3 separate regions of the Homo sapiens genome follow, and regions 2 and 3 are each linked to region 1. Evidence: promoter capture Hi-C in 16 types of primary human blood cells and fetal thymus (Javierre and others, 2016). All regions are on one chromosome and are shown on one strand. Each heading gives the region's core, a stretch centred on a gene start or on the middle of the fragment in contact. The rest is flanking DNA. Distances are from core to core; before and after follow the strand shown. Region 1 holds the start of ZFC3H1 (zinc finger C3H1-type containing). Region 2 holds the start of TMPO (thymopoietin). Region 3 overlaps FGD6 (FYVE, RhoGEF and PH domain containing 6).

Evidence for each region. Contacts are between HindIII fragments. The CHiCAGO score rates a contact against its expected background, and 5 or more counts as called.
Region 2: a contact is called between the fragment with the promoter of TMPO here and the fragment with the promoter of ZFC3H1 in region 1, in 3 of 17 cell types (activated CD4 T cells, fetal thymus and naive CD4 T cells). The highest score is 14.0, in activated CD4 T cells.
Region 3: a fragment that was not itself captured here is called in contact with the fragment with the promoter of ZFC3H1 in region 1 in 1 of 17 cell types (total CD4 T cells); the score reaches 6.6 in total CD4 T cells.

Annotation. Positions count from the first base shown.
Region 1 is chr12:71,662,358-71,665,484 of GRCh38, reverse strand. ZFC3H1 (zinc finger C3H1-type containing) reads left to right here and starts at 1,637. Exons shown (of 35, transcript NM_144982.5): 1 at 1,637-2,472. The coding sequence starts at 1,875. THAP2 (THAP domain containing 2) reads right to left here and starts at 1,184. Exons shown (of 3, transcript NM_031435.4): 1 at 905-1,184. The coding sequence starts at 975. RefSeq lists enhancers at 1,175-1,534, 984-1,542, 1,895-2,014. The HindIII fragment of the contact is 1,665 bases long and covers 1,035-2,699 here.
Region 2 is chr12:98,514,063-98,517,189 of GRCh38, reverse strand. TMPO (thymopoietin) reads right to left here and starts at 1,600. Exons shown (of 9, transcript NM_001032283.3): 1 at 1,044-1,600. The coding sequence starts at 1,322. TMPO-AS1 (TMPO antisense RNA 1) reads left to right here and starts at 964. Exons shown (of 2, transcript NR_027157.1): 1 at 964-1,199; 2 at 1,293-3,127. RefSeq lists a silencer at 841-1,110 and enhancers at 1,451-1,640, 1,901-1,980. The HindIII fragment of the contact is 4,246 bases long and covers 1-3,127 here.
Region 3 is chr12:95,214,148-95,217,274 of GRCh38, reverse strand. FGD6 (FYVE, RhoGEF and PH domain containing 6) reads left to right here. Exons shown (of 21, transcript NM_018351.4): 1 at 1-50. The coding sequence starts at 35. Among named protein-coding and RNA genes, the nearest start is that of FGD6, 1.8 kb to the left of the region's middle. RefSeq lists an enhancer at 1-144. The HindIII fragment of the contact is 1,076 bases long and covers 956-2,031 here.

The DNA of each region.
Region 1 (3,127 bases), core at 388-2,887:
CACTACATATGCATGAACTAGTTTAAAAACAGAAACATCACAAGATTTTTTTTAAGTGGCAGCTTTTAATAAAAGTACAGTTCGTAATAGGTAGGGAAAAAGGTCAAGGATATAATTTCTACATACTAACATATACGTTGTTAGGTATATAAAATATATAAAATCAGGACTGGTGTCACTTAACTTTTTAATGTGTCTTTTCTTCGGGCACGTGGCAGGCACTTGCAGAGAAGGTAAACATTTACAGAGTACCTGTTATTTTCCAGGCATTGTTCAAAGTGCTTTCAAGAGTTCTGGTTTGACAGAACTAAAGAATTTTGATTTTTCTTCCAGCAAACAAAAGAAAACCTAGGTTCTTTTTATTACTCTATTCTAGTAAGAACAGAAAGGTTATCTTTTGCACTTTAATTAACATCGCTTAATTCCATGGCTATCAAAGATGACTCAATTCCTCCGCAGAATTACTATGTGACTATTAGAAATCTAAATGCCTCCCATGTCAATTCATCTAGTGAGAATTTCCTAATTTTAACGGGAACACAGCAGGCTTTTACGGTGATTGCTGATTGGGAAGATCTCTTTCTCCCTTACGGCGTCATTCATGTCAAGGCCCGGTCTAACAGAGGAATAAAACAGTAGAAAATTACGATATCCTCCTGTTACTTTTTTTTACTAAGGGGTAATGACCAAACAGTACTTGGATTTCTTTTAGAAAATGAGTAAAGCTTCCCCGAAAGCAGAGAACAATTGGGCAGATTTGAGAAACACAAAGGACATACGATGCTTCCCTGCTACCAGCTGGGAAAGTTATTAGAATTAGCAGAATCCTCCTGTTCCTTCCACACAAGCGATAGCCACAATAGGAACTCCAGTTTCCGTCACCCCCACTCCCTGCCCAGGTTACCTGTGGAAGCTGATGTTAATGTGCTTGTTGTAGGTAGTGGCACAGCCCGCCGCAGCGCAATTGGTCGGCATTTCCCTTTCCCACTCATTCAGCGCCCTTAGGTCTCTACTGAGGCGCTGGCTGCTAAGCTTTCTTCTGGCAGAGGCTGGACAATCGAGGCAGGCGTGCCTTAATCGTGAGAGCTTAGTCGTGAGAGCGGAGTGGGAAGAAGGGGTGTGTATGTGGGGGCGGAGGCGAAGGACGGTCAGCCTTCCCTTTCTCTTTATTAATATGGCCGACTAGAGCCCACAGAACTGGCCCTCCTGGAGCTCTAGTCGCCTTCGCTTGACTTCACCAACATGGCGGACACAACCCGTTCTTTCTCCCCGCCCCCAAGAGGGAGCGGATCTACTGCGTTTCTTTGGCAGCGGTCCTCAGAGCAATTAAAAGGAAGAGGTGTTTTCCCCTCCGATTACTATAAATTACAAGAGTTTTACAATAAAACTCTCTCAAGGCTGCAACAGCAGCTCCACCTACTTCTGCATGCACCCAACTGTACCAAGCCAGACCCTGCGGTGGGTGTGACCCTAGGACCGGAAGAGTAAACCCGAAGAAAGACGAAAGACTACAAATCCTAGTGAGTATCGAGTTGGTCTTATTATCGCGTGAACTGGGAGCCTTTGTTTCCTGCGTGTCGCAGGAAGTGACGTTTCGGGTACAGCCGCTACCAGAGTCCCTTTCTCGCGAGGCGGAAGAACCCCGATCGCTGAGGAGCAAGGGGGCGCTAGGAAAGGGAACTGGGTTGCGACGGTCCGGCGAGAGAGAGCTGGGGTGCTGGGGTGCGGGGAAGTTGGGGAGCAGAGGCCGCTTGGTGTCCGAGTAGGGTAAGACCGCACCGACCCAGTCCGTTAGGAAAGAAGGGAAACGAGGCAATTGTCGGGCGGATCCCCGGACGGAGGGCTAAGGTTGTGTGGAAGGCGCTGCTCCCCGGATGGCGACCGCAGATACTCCGGCCCCGGCCTCCAGTGGCCTCTCGCCGAAGGAAGAAGGGGAGCTTGAAGATGGGGAAATCAGTGACGACGATAATAACAGCCAGATACGGAGTCGGAGCAGCAGCAGCAGCAGCGGCGGCGGGCTGTTACCCTATCCGCGGCGAAGGCCTCCTCACTCGGCCCGGGGCGGTGGATCTGGCGGAGGCGGTGGCTCTTCCTCGTCATCGTCCTCTTCTCAGCAGCAGCTGAGGAATTTCTCACGCTCGCGGCACGCGTCTGAGCGGGGCCACCTCAGGGGACCCAGCAGCTACCGACCCAAAGAACCGTTCCGGTCTCATCCGCCTTCTGTACGGATGCCTTCGAGCTCACTGTCCGAAAGCAGTCCCCGGCCGTCTTTCTGGGAGCGGAGCCACCTCGCCTTGGACCGTTTCCGCTTTCGAGGCAGGCCTTACCGGGGTGGGAGTCGCTGGAGTCGGGGGCGAGGAGTGGGTGAGCGAGGAGGCAAGCCGGGGTGCAGACCTCCTCTGGGAGGAGGAGCAGGATCCGGGTTCAGCAGCAGTCAGAGCTGGCGAGAGCCCTCTCCACCTCGGAAGAGCTGTATCCTTAACGTGGCGGTCGGCGCTGGGTGTGTCACTAAAGTTCCCTTTAGCGTCATTACTAGGTCTGTGAGACGAGTGTAACTTTGAATCATCAGAACCGCTTATTTCTCCCTGTGTCAGTATACTTTAAGTTGTTCTTTGGTAATTCCCCATGTGTCACACTATAGCGTTATTCTTAAGACTGCTTCATTGGGTATATTAACGTGCTGTGGATTGGGTTAAGCTTATGAAATCTAAGACAGTTAAGTCTGATTTGTAATAATACCTTAGAAGCCCAAGTTTCATTAGCATTTGTATTTTTGCTGGTACAGAAACTTTGTGTTTTATATGAAGTTGACTTGGATTGTTAGAGAAAAAATATTCATAAACAGTTTAAGTAATATTGTTGCTTTATCATATTGCAGTTTGACGTTGAAAATTGTAAAGTTTTAATCTGCACAGTCCTGCACTATTTTTGTGATTCTGTTTTTATCTTGATTTATTCCGGTTGCTGCCTTTTAAAGTGGGGGGGGGAGGGGTAAAAAAAAAACAACTCTGGTGTCTTTACCAAGTCTGTTTCAGAGCTTTTTGATTCATTTGATCTTTTTGGAACACTTTACCTCCTTTACGTTTCTATCTGTGTTCACTTTTGCACATTGTGTAACTTCGTGCTG
Region 2 (3,127 bases), core at 351-2,850, about 27 Mb before region 1:
TTTCGTTTCCTCAAGCAAAATTTACCAATATGTGGGGAAAACGCAATCCAAACTGCAATTTTCAAATATTTGTTTGCAGGGCCGGGCCCGGTGGCTCACGCCTGTTATCCCAGCACTTTGTGAGGCCGAGGCGGGAGGACCACCTGAGGTCAGGAGTTCGAGACCAGCCTGACCAACTTGGAGAAACCCCGTCTCTACTAAAAAATACACAAATCAGCCGGGCGTGGCGGCGCATGCCTGTAATCCCAGCTACTCGGGAGGCTGAGGCAGGAGAATCGCTTGAACCCGGGAGGTGGAGGTTGCGGTGAGCCGAGATCTCGCCATTGCACTCCAGCCTGGGCAACAAGTGCGACACTCCATCTAAAAAAATAAATAAATAAAAACTAAAAAATTATAATAGGCGCCTAAAAATATAGTTTAAAATGCTCCTTTTAATTCGGCATGAACCTGTTCCGCCAAAAGATGGCCTGTTGCTGGGAAAAATTAAAACAAACTAGAAAACATAAACGGTTCAAAAAGCCCTCCACACGCAAAAGTATAAAAAGGCGGGAATTTCCTCATTTCAAATTTTGGTTAGAAATTAGAGTGTCATCAGTTGCCCTCCAGGGAGCGCTCTGAGACTCTGCTGCGAGTCATTTCAGTTAATAAAGCGGGAAAACGCTCGAACTTAACCTATAGCATTTTGGGGCCACCCCTCCAGAGCTTTCGAAAGGGCACGGAAGTCCCCGTCTAAACGCCCGCTGCAGGCGGCTGGTGGTCCAGGGAAGCGGCGTCGACTGCGTGCAAAACAACCGCCGCCAACGCAACTCCACACCTCCCAGACCCACACGTCAAAGAACGCGAACCCCGCGGCCCCAACTTCTGGCCTCTCCGCTCCGGCGCCTGCAGCCCCGCGGGGAAGGGGCGACGCGAGGGGGCGCAGGGACAGCCCCGCACCTGGGAGGCCCGAGGGGGCGCCCGGGAGGGAGGGGCTGCAAACGGCGGCGAGCGCGCGCGGCAACCGCCAAACGCCCGCCTTTGTAGCCCCGGCCCCGCGTCCTTACCCTGCCGACGGCTGCTCGGCTCCGGCCCGCGGCGGCGGCCCCAGAGCCGAGGACCGGGGTGGGCTCGCGCTCTTCGTCACTGGAGAAGTCCGGGGGCCCCTTGCTGTTGGTGCCGGCGGGGAGCGGCGGCCGGTTGCGAGCCGTGAGGTGCTGCAGGTAGAGCTGGACGTACACGTCTTTGCGCTGCTCCCCGGCCGGCAGCGTCACATTGTTGGCGACCAACTCACTCTTCAACTTGTCTTTTGTCAGGACCGAGGGGTCTTCCAGGAACTCCGGCATCTCGGGGATCTGCGAAGCCCCCTCCCCACAGCCTTTGCCGCCGCCGCTCACGCCGGCGCGCTTGCTCCTGGCCGGGGACCGCGCTGCCGCCTCCGAGCCTCACGGCTCCTGCCCGGGAAGAGCGCTGCGGAGCGGAACAAAAACTCGCGGACACAAAGCCAAGCCAGACCCGGACACAAAAGACCCCAGAGCCGAACTACGAACCAACTGCGGCCAAGCTGGAAGCTCGCACCAACCCCAGCCCACACACTACAGGCAGGAGGCGAGCAGCCTGCTTCGCCCACGCCCCAAGAACGCGCGCCGCCATTGGCGGGCGACGGGAGGAAGCGCGGCGGTGATTGGCGAGACGGCTCGCGCGGGTTCCATTAGCCGCCGCGCTGAGCGAGAGGAGGTAGAAACGCAGTTTAAAAGGCGCTGGGGCGGGAGCCGAGGCTCCCGGCCCGCTTCTGTTTTCGTTTTCTCCACCCTTCCCCTTAGACGCCGATAAGGGACAGGTCGTACTGCTTTTGTGCGCCGTTTCCTCTCCCTCCCCCAGCTTGAGAAGCAGCTTTCGTCTCTGGGGTCGATCGCCTACGAACGCGCCGAATTCCACGCCAGTGTGAGGACCCTTGGCTGGGCCTTTCTTCCTCCCGGGACACTGAAGCTCCAAGAGTAGCCGCAGCCTTGCCTTCCCCAAACGCTAGCCCTGAAGGGGAAGAAAAGAAGCGAGGCTTGTCTGCAGGCACTCATATTCCTTGATTTGATTTACTTTGGGAGGGGGAGGGCGGGGAGTTACCCCTCTCCTCGCGAACGCTTCTTTTGTTCCAGAAACCCAGGGGAAGCCAGACCTCTACAATCGGGCACTTAAATTACCCTTGAATTTGTGACAAAAGTGTACTATACCATTCACTTCTTAGTGTCATAGTTGGGGCATGTCTAAATTGTTTAATTTGAACAGTGCGTTCAGACGCAAGACAAATTCGCGCTTGCATTTTTGTTGAAACCGTCTCTGGCTTTGGATCCCACCACCCGCAAGAATCCTAAACCTAACGTTTGATAACAAAACGAAGGAGAACCCTTGGGAACCCCCTCAATGGTCAATTTAAAATAACAGATGGTGCATAATCCTAAAGGAAGACTAGTGACCTATAATTAGGCCTAGAACCCTAATCAAACCCGTATTACCGATCCAAATTAAAACCTGGTAGAATCTAATACATTGACTGCAATTAAAATGTTTGCCTGGAAATTAGTATCACTGATGACAAATATTTGTATTTCTGATGAATATGTATGTTTAAAGATGCTTTCTTTCTAGAAAGGAAAGGAGACCTTGGATGTAGGGTGTGTTAATCATTTCCCCAGAATCTGAGCTCCAAACTATGTTTTAGAAACTGGTTAAATTTTTTTTAAATGTTTGCCTGCTTTCTACATTGCTAGGTTAGAATACATTTAAAACAAACGCCTTCACTAAAAATGTTTCCTATGATTTAAGCGACTTACTTTTATTCAAATTGCGATATTATTTCTTTTAGTGATAATTATTTTCCTAGAGGTAACTAATTCCTTTATAAAAATCTCAGTATTCACATACATTTAAGCAATGGTATTAAGCTCAATAATGCAAATTAAAAATCAGGTTTTAATTAGCAAGTTGTTAGGTAGGTTTTTATGATCCCTTGTAAAAGTTGCTTGGTTTTTTGTCCTCACAGCTTCCCTGGACACATAGGCAAATGTTTTTATCTTCAGAAGGGGAACTGAGCTGAGAGGCAAAGGACCATGACTTTGCAATGACTGGTAACCCAGTACGTATAATGCAAGAACTG
Region 3 (3,127 bases), core at 244-2,743, about 24 Mb before region 1:
GGCCGAGCGGGGAAGCGAGCTGCACCGGGGAATCATGACTTCTGCAGCCGGTAAGTGACGGCGCTCGCGCTGCCGCGGGAAAGTTTGTGGCGAGCGCTGCTAGGCTTGGGCTCGCGAGCAACTTTCTTCGCCGGGGTGGGCGAGTTGTGTGCCCCGTACCTTTGCCGAGCACCTCGGCAAGCGCGGAGCTAATGGGATTCGCTGCCGGCTTTCTCGTCTTTTCCTGCCCAGAGGGGCTGTTTGGAAACCCGGGATTTCTCGGGATCTCCCTTCCAAGGGGGACTGTGCTGGGGGCTCTGCACCAGGTGAAATGCGATGTGTGAAGGGCGTTCGCTCATCTCTCCAGCAGTGCGAGGACTTCGCCTTTGCATGTGAAAATAGTGTAGATTCCCAAGTTAATAGATCAGTTATTATAGGTAAAGGCAGTGTTCTCAGCGTGTTCAATTTGGCCACTAAGTGAGTCGCTTTCAACCTTGTATCTGCTGGTAAACCTTTTACCCATTTTAAAGAGGCGTAGACATTGTCATGTCCTGGTGGTTTTACCTCTGTTACCTGAGAAGCAGAGGAGTTGAGATTGTTGAGGTTTTTTTTTTTTTTTTTTTTTTGCTTGTCTGCACCCAATTACAATTATTTTGTTTGTTTCTACCTGATTAGGGTAAACAAAGCTTTATTTTCTGTCTGCCTCCCATAGTTCTTTCCCCTTCATCCAAATGACAAAGCCTCTATCTTTGTGTGGATTTTCAGCAATTCTAGACGTTGTGTTTCTGAACATTCTTAAGGAACAATTTCTGTTTTACAAAATAATTACCAAAGTGGTGTTACGTTCACTTCGTAAGTACATAGGTTAATTTTTAAACCAGAACTTATGTATTAAGTAGAGTGTTATGGGTTATTTTACGTTTTTGTCCACGTTGAAACTTTCATTAGAAATTTTATAGTGAAATAGTTTAAAGCTTCTTCTCAAGGTTACTTCCAGAATCAGCACTTAAGTATCAGATTAAATTTTCATTGCTTTTCTTGGCATTTGTTTAAAATTCTTGCAACTTGAAACTGTCCAACAGCACTCAAATGTTCTGATTTGTATTATTTCTAAAGCCTAGATATATTGTAGTGTTGCATTGCTCCCTGTGATCAGATTACAACAAACGAAACAAGAAGTTAGCCAATAGGAAAAGAAAGCAAGAAGTGGGTGTTGTGTGGGTCTTTCCTTTTTGATGTTATATGCACTTATATGAGATATCTTTATAAACTCTCTTTTCTTTGCCAAAGGGAGGCTTTATACTTACATAAGGTAAATTATTTTCATCCTACATTTCTGTGCCTTACCTTCGTTCAAGAAATTGATTTAAATTAAAAGTGGTTGGAAATTTTAAAATCCTTCCAGCCAGTTTTAGCTCTTTCCTTTTTGGAGGTGTCAAATGTATTTAAAATAACCGTGTCTTATATGTATCAGTTTTCAATTCCAGTCTTAACAGTTTATAAGGAACAGGCACAGAAGCATGTAATTTCACATTTATGTAAACCCAATTTCTAGGGCCCAGACTGGAAGTTCATGATTCTTGCATTTGAATTATCCTAAAATAATGCAAGCTATTTTTGTATTTTATCAACTTTACAATTAAAGAAATCCACAGAAATTTTTGTGGTGTTTAAAGTGGGACACTTCCTGTGTCTAGCCGAGTTGGTTGGTTTTTAGCATTGCTGGCTGAGAAGCATCAACTACTTTTTTGCTCACCCATCTGTTGGATTTATCATAATTCTTTCTGGTGTCTAGATGGGGAATATGGAAGAGAACTGGGGTTTTATTTCTACCCATTCTTATATGTATACATAGTTCTTACAAGCTGATTATGGTGCTTTTTGGGAACAATAGTCAAATTCATTGAAACGTTTAGGAAAGTTACTTGAAGTTAAGGGAGGGGATTTTTGCTTTTGAATCTAATCTGTGGTATTTGGAAGGGTTGGTTTAATTTAAGAAAATAAAAGGAATGTTGTAGAACATCTAGGTTATATGTATCCAGCAGAAAAGCTTGCTTTGTTTTTCTACATCTATAAAATAATCTGCCCTTAGTGGAGATTTCAGAATTATTTTAAGCTGTATATGAAAAAGGAGAGGCTGGGCGCAGTGGCTCAAGCCTGTAATTCCATCACTTTGGGAGGCCAAGGCGGGTGGATCACTTGAGGTCAGGAGTTTGAGACCAGCCTGGCCAACATGGCAAAACCCTGTCTCTACTAAAAATACAAAAATTAGCCAGGTGTGGTGGGGTGCGCCTGTAGTCCCAGCTATTCGGGAGGCTGATATGAAAATTGCTTGAGCCAGCGAGGCGGAGGTTGTGGTGAGCCGAGATCGAGCCACTGCACTCTAGCCTGGGTGACAGAGCAAGACTCCATCTCAAAAAAAAAAAAAAAAAAAGAAAAAAGGAGAGAGAATTATAGGTATATATAGGTATATATTTTGTGTCCTTTTGAACATGTACAGGTCACTGTCTTCATTGTCTGTGCTTTGCGTTTTGGCTGGTCCAGTAGCCAGAGAGTGTACACGTGAACCACAGCCATCTGTGTGTAACAGATGACGAGTATGTTTGTAATAGTTAGTAAAATGGTACTAGTGCTTTACTTTCTTACCTTATATTTCCCTGGAGCCAAACAGCTGTGTAAATAAAAGATTTGCTGCTTTGCTCTAAGAAGCTTTGGGTCTGACTGTTGATGCAGTATTAAGATCCAAAGGTGCTAGATTTATTGCCAAATGTCATGCACTTATTTCACATTGGAGTAGACCATAATATAATGGCTTATTATTTTTTGAGTTGTGTTTCTTCCAAAATAGAGCCATGAAAAAAAAATAATGAAGGATTTTGGATATTGCTCTACCAGTGACTTAGTTGAACACTTGTTCCTATTAATAATTAAGGAATTTTTCAATAATCGTATTGAAATTGATTCCTGCTAACTTTTCAAAATATTATTCTACATTAAAATGGATGTACATTTTTGAATGTGATTATTTTTAAAGAAGAAATTTTCTGTTATGGAGACATATTAAAGAGTATGTGTATGTGGCAGCTGTGATTATTCCCAGGCCCTGTTGTTAGCACTGGGATACATCAGTGAATGAGACAAAGTGCCT